Linked DNA regions of Homo sapiens: region 1 is linked to region 2. Evidence: promoter capture Hi-C in human tissues and cell types (Jung and others, 2019). All regions are on one chromosome and are shown on one strand. Each heading gives the region's core, a stretch centred on a gene start or on the middle of the fragment in contact. The rest is flanking DNA. Distances are from core to core; before and after follow the strand shown.

Region 1 (2,700 bases), core at 188-2,687, 380 kb before region 2:
TTGGTTTTGGTTTTGTTTTATAGACAGGGTCTCACTCTGTTGCCCAGGCTGGAGTGCAGTGGTGCAATTGTAGCTCACTGCAGCCTCTACCTCCTGGGCTCAAGTGATCCTCCTGACTCAGCCTCCTGAGCAGCTGGGTCTACAGGTATGAGCCACCGCACCAGGCTAATAAAGGGTTTTAGAACTTAAAGAAACCTTAAGAACCTGCAAAGCCCAACTCCCCAAGAGAAACACAAGGGCCCACTGGTAGAAATAACTTGAGTAGCCTGAACCAATGTGACCCGAACAGGAAAGGGAGGGAGCCAGGCAGGGCATGAGTCCTGGCTCTGCACCTTGCTAGCTGGCGACTTGGGGCAGCTACTTAACCTCCTATGGCTTGTTTTCTCATGGGATGAACAAAATCACAGAGCACCTGCCCTACTGCTCTGCTGATGGGCTGCGCACTCGGGTGACTGCAGCATGCACTCACGCTCTGCAGAGTGGCCCATGCCCAGACAAAGGCAACTGTGGCCTGTCGCGTCCATCATGACCATGGTCCTGGGTATAGGCAGGGGCCACCCTCTTTGTGCATGTTTGTAGGTTTTCAGAAAAAAATAAAATCCTAAGCCCCCCTACCGACTAAACGGACTCCCCCTTGGCCAAAGGGACCCCAGAGAAATATTAAAACTGAGTTCCTGGCCATGATAGGATGGGAGGTTGAACACCCCTCCTTATACCCTCTCCCTCGCTAACCACCATTAGACTTTCTTTCCTAAGAGTTAAACAGAACTGGCCCAGCAGGGACTCCCTTCCCTTTTTGCGGGTTTTTTTTTTTCTTTTGAGACAGGGTCTCACATTTTCACCCAGGCTGGAGTGTAGTGATGCAATCTCAACTCACTGCAGCTTCTGCCTCCCAGGTTCAAGCCATCTTCCCACCTCAGCCCTCCCATTAGCTGGGATTACTGGTGCACCACCATGCCCAGCTAGTATGTGTTTGTCTGTGTGTGTGTGTGTGCACGCGCGTGTGCCACCATGCCCAGCTAGTGTGTGTGCGTGCGTGCATGCCACCATGCCCAGCTAGTTAGTGAGTGAGTGAGAGTGTGTGTGTGTGTGTGTGTGTGTGTGTGTGTGTGTGTGTGTGTGTGTGTGTGTGCTGACCAGCATTCCTTCCTGGTAAGAGACCACCAACCACGGAATGGTTCTGGCTGATTTACAGAGGCTGTGCACAAGATGCCTCTGTGTCCTCCATTTCACCTTTTGACCTATAGAGGCTAATTTTAATGCATTTAAATGTTAAGTCTCCATCCCAAAATGAATGTGGGACATATGTAACATGTATGTTTGCTTACTGTATATGCAAATGCCTCCTCCCATTATGAATATTCATAGCTCCTCCCATAACCTGTTAAATATGTACACTGAGCCAACCCTTTTGGAATAAGTTTCTATTCCACCCCTTTCTCCCTTGAAGTGCCTGCTTTCAGTTTCTACCAGAGGCTACACTTCCCAGCCTGCAGGATGGCCAGCCTGCAGGCCACAACTCTGAATAAGAAAAGCTCTCCTCTCTAAGTTTATGAACCTTGTGATTCTTCAGTTGACATTTTTGACAGTGTGGTTGCTCTCTGGATAAGGGCAGGAAGGTGGTGCTGTCAAGCAGAGCAGCTTTGTAGAGGGTGTCGGGGCACAGCGTAGGTGTCGGGGCACAGCGTAGGTGCCCATTCAGAGCCCGAGGACTCATCCACCAGCTGTCCAGTGTTGGCTGCCAAGGGCTCACCACTGAGTCATTCCTCAGGAATGGCCCTCAGCCCAAGGGAGTTCCACCTCCTTACCCAGGGCAGCCCACATCCAGTGACCAACAGGGGCCACTCCACCTTCCAGAGCTCCTTGAAGGATCAGCTGAGGCCCCGCTGAAGCTCTATCAGTGCTATCACAAGCAGTTCAACTTCTCCCACTGCCCAACTCTGCTTCTCTCACTTCCTAACCAAGGCTGCTCGAGAGCTCCCCAGTAAACCTCCTGCATACAAACGTCCCGCCCAGGGAGGCTGACTCACAGCACCACCAAGGAACCTTGCTCCTCAGATGATGAGTCTCTGAGCACAATCCCAAAAGGGCAACAACCCCTGTTCCCCACAGGAGTCCAGCTTCACAGCTGCACCTACCTCCTCAGCCCAAGTCAGCCTGTTCCACAGTGGGGAGGGAATTACCCATTGAGTGAGGTCTTGCCCCACATAAAGCATTCTTGCCCCAAACACCCACACACAGAGAGGCACAAAGACCATCTTTACCTGTGGCAGGTGAAGGCAGAGTGTGGTCTGGCCACCCCTCCCCACCTCCCCTTCTCTCCAGTGTGAGGTCCTGGTGAGTGAGATCATGAATGGCAACTCTGATGCAGACAGAGCTGCTACAAGGCTACCTTGTAAGTGGCAACAGGGCTCTGTGGAAGGGGTGGGGCAGTCCTCCCAGCCTTGTCAGGGTTGGCAGGCATTAGCACACACAGGAGAGGAGAAGGCCATGTGACCACAGAGGCAGAAATTGAAGTCATGAGCCCAAAGACAGGGAATGCCGCTGCCACCCAAAAATGACGGAAGCAAGGACCTAGAGCCTCTGGAAGGAGCAAAGCCAGCCAACACCTTGATCTCAGCCCAGGGAAACTAAATTTGGACCTCCAGCCTCCAGAACTGGGAGAAAATAAATGCCTACTGTTTTAAGCCATTGAGTATG
Region 2 (2,700 bases), core at 189-2,688:
TCGACTTAAGGCAGAAAATTCAATGAGTAGGTAGCAGCCAGTGTTGGAAGCAGTCCAGGATGGTAGCACCAATGACAAGATTAAGGTCAGAGACCTCGTGATGCCCCGCTAGCCACCACGATTTTTCTGTTGCCTTCTGTTCATCCCACGTAGATACTATCTGGAAGCCCCCTCCCCAAAATGAAAACAACTGGAATTCTACGGCTTGCCCAAAATGCATAGAACACTCATATCTGGTTAAAACCATAGAAATCAAAAAGAAAAAGTGAAATGGCTATGAAGTATTTGCAAGGCCAATTTCACTTACTACTTGTTGGGAGTTGGAAACACTCAACAGTAAAATATCTAGGGATAATTACAACCCTTATGTAACACAAGTAAATCTTTCCCTTTTTTGTCACTTAGAGAAGCAACATAAATACATCTAGGACCAGGCCAGGGTAGTAATCAGAAAGAAAAATCTGTATTAGACATATTGAGGTCTTGACAGAGAAGTACTTCGTTTGTTTAGCCGTAGTTTTCCCTCAAGATCATGCGAAGGGGGTGATGTTGAAGACTGCTGGAGACTAAACTGTGTGTGTTGGAGGAAAGGGGGAAAGCTCAGCTCTCCCTATTTCTCCTCCAACTATTTGGTAAGACTCGGTGATAGAAAAACATCTCCTATACGAATGGCCTTGGTATGAACAGCCGCTTGGGATGACAGGCCACTATCCCACTACCCCTTGAGTCTTTCTGAGCTGCTCACCTGGTGCCAGAGAACTGGCAGATAAGTTTCTGCAGCTTTGCTCACTGCCATGAGGGGGGCTAGACATCACACTTTGGGTGAGGGGTAAACAAATCCAGAGATTGTAGGGCAACATAAGTTACCAACTGGCAGTTGCACCCATGACTGTCTTTCCTGAGGCGCTGAGTAGTGATTTAGCCAGATGACAGAAATACCTTTCGAGTCCCCTGCCCAGTTGTCTCCATCCACCACCCCCAGCCCCCGCCCTCTCCGAGTCTCCACTATACCAAAACCAGAATGAGGCGCCACTCAGACGAGAGGAGAGGGTGCAATGATTGTGGGACCCCTGCGCCCCTGCCCCGCCCGTGGGGTGCTAGCTGTGGCTGGTGCGAGAATGGGGTGCTGGCCCCCCTCCCTGGGGGTGGCCCGGTCCGGAAGCGGCGCGCGGTGGTAGTTCCCCGCGTTGCTGCAGCTGCTGCATTGCGCCATTTTCCGTCCCGCAGAATCGGGAGCTTGGGGCGAGAGTTGTCAAGGAGGTGCCGAGCCCCCACACCAGAGTCAACTCACATTTTTCTGACAGAGAGAGTGAGGGTCTGTTCCTCTCCGGAGGCTGCGGCGAGACACCCGGTGAGGGACGCTGCGGCTGAAGTGGACGGAACTGCCAAGCTCCGCCTCGCGCCGACTACCCCGCGGTCTAGCTGCGCTGGAACTTACTGCAGCTGCCGCGCCGGCCTCCGCCTTTATTAGTGCTGACCACGCCTCCCGGATAACGGTGACAACCCCGCGGCCCAATCCATGCCCAGGACGGTCGCCCAGCGCTACAGGCCTAGCCCGCCCCGCCCCTGCCAATTGCCAGTCACAACTCTCCTCTCATCCGACTCCGGAAAGGAGCGGTTGCTGTGAGGATCCTTCAGTGATCAATGCGACCATAGTTTGCGCTCCAGTCTGGCGGAGGGACGGGGCGGGGTGGAGATGAGGTCTGTCCCTTCGGAGGGCGCTTCAGCAGTTTGTTAGGCATTTGTGGTGCCTCCCAACCAATCGCTAGGCAGTTACTGAAGACCGTGCCCGCCCCTGCCCCACCCCGCGCCGGGACTCGCGCATTCAGCTGGAGGCGGCGGCTTCCTGGTGCGCGCCCAGCCCTGGTGCCCTGCTCTGGCCCTCGCTCCGCACCACCGCCCCGCCTCTAACTAACGCTCTGAGAGGGTGCAGGAGCCTCGAGACACAGCCACAAGCTCCTGGTGCCAGATACCGGATGCGGGGTTCCGTCCCACCAAAGCAAGCACGAAGCTTTCGTTCATTCGTTTCTTTCAACATAGCCTTCCTAAATTGAACTCCCTCCCAAACCTGCTCCAGTCGAGGTTACCACATCGACTCAGTTGCCCAGACCAGAAACGTGGAAACCATCCTAGATTTCCTCCCCTTCACCTTTACCTCTCCCCCAGTAATCTGCCAAATCGAGTTGATTTTTCCTTCTTGGCATTCCAGTGATTATCTCCCCTCTGCTCACTATTATCCCTTTCCTGGACTCCATCAGTTGGAAAATTCACCATTATTTTATGTCCCGCTAAGAAAAAAGGTTACAAGGCCGGGCGCAGTGGCTCACACCTGTAATCCCAGCACTTTGGGAGGCCGAGTCAGGCAGATTACCTGAGATCAGGAGTTCGAGACCAGCCTGGCCAACATGGCGAAACCTCTGTCTCTACTAAAAATACAAAACAGCCAGGCATGGTGGCGGGCGCCTGTAATCCCAGCTACTCGTGAGGCTGAGATAAGAGAATCGCTTGAAGCCGGGAGCCGACGGTTGCAGTGAGCCGAGATCACGCCACTGCACTCCAGCCTGGGCAACAGAGCAAGACCCTGTTTCAAAAAAAAAAAGAAAAAAGGTTGCAAATTATCTGTGACAAATGCTTTCCTTACCACTTAGCATTTTTGTTTTACATGTATTGAAAATATGGGTTTATATACATACCGATTTC

The links. The method cuts DNA at HindIII sites, captures the fragments that hold promoters and counts their contacts. A contact is called where the count stands out against the background at its distance.
Region 1: a contact is called between a fragment that was not itself captured here and the fragment with the promoter of VAMP1 in region 2, in 1 of the 25 tissues and cell types used here (mesenchymal stem cells).

What each region holds. Positions count from the first base shown.
Region 1 is chr12:6,091,542-6,094,241 of GRCh38, forward strand. The region is part of intron 6 of VWF (von Willebrand factor); the gene reads right to left. Among named protein-coding and RNA genes, the nearest start is that of VWF, 32 kb to the right of the region's middle. RefSeq lists enhancers at 1,701-2,297, 2,298-2,700. The HindIII fragment of the contact is 7,255 bases long and covers 1-2,700 here.
Region 2 is chr12:6,469,239-6,471,938 of GRCh38, forward strand. It overlaps VAMP1 (vesicle associated membrane protein 1), which reads right to left and starts at 1,439. Exons shown (of 5, transcript NM_014231.5): 1 at 1,292-1,439. The coding sequence starts at 1,293. It also overlaps a transcript of TAPBPL not described here. RefSeq lists silencers at 921-970, 1,471-1,520, 1,731-1,990. The HindIII fragment of the contact is 3,078 bases long and covers 1-2,480 here.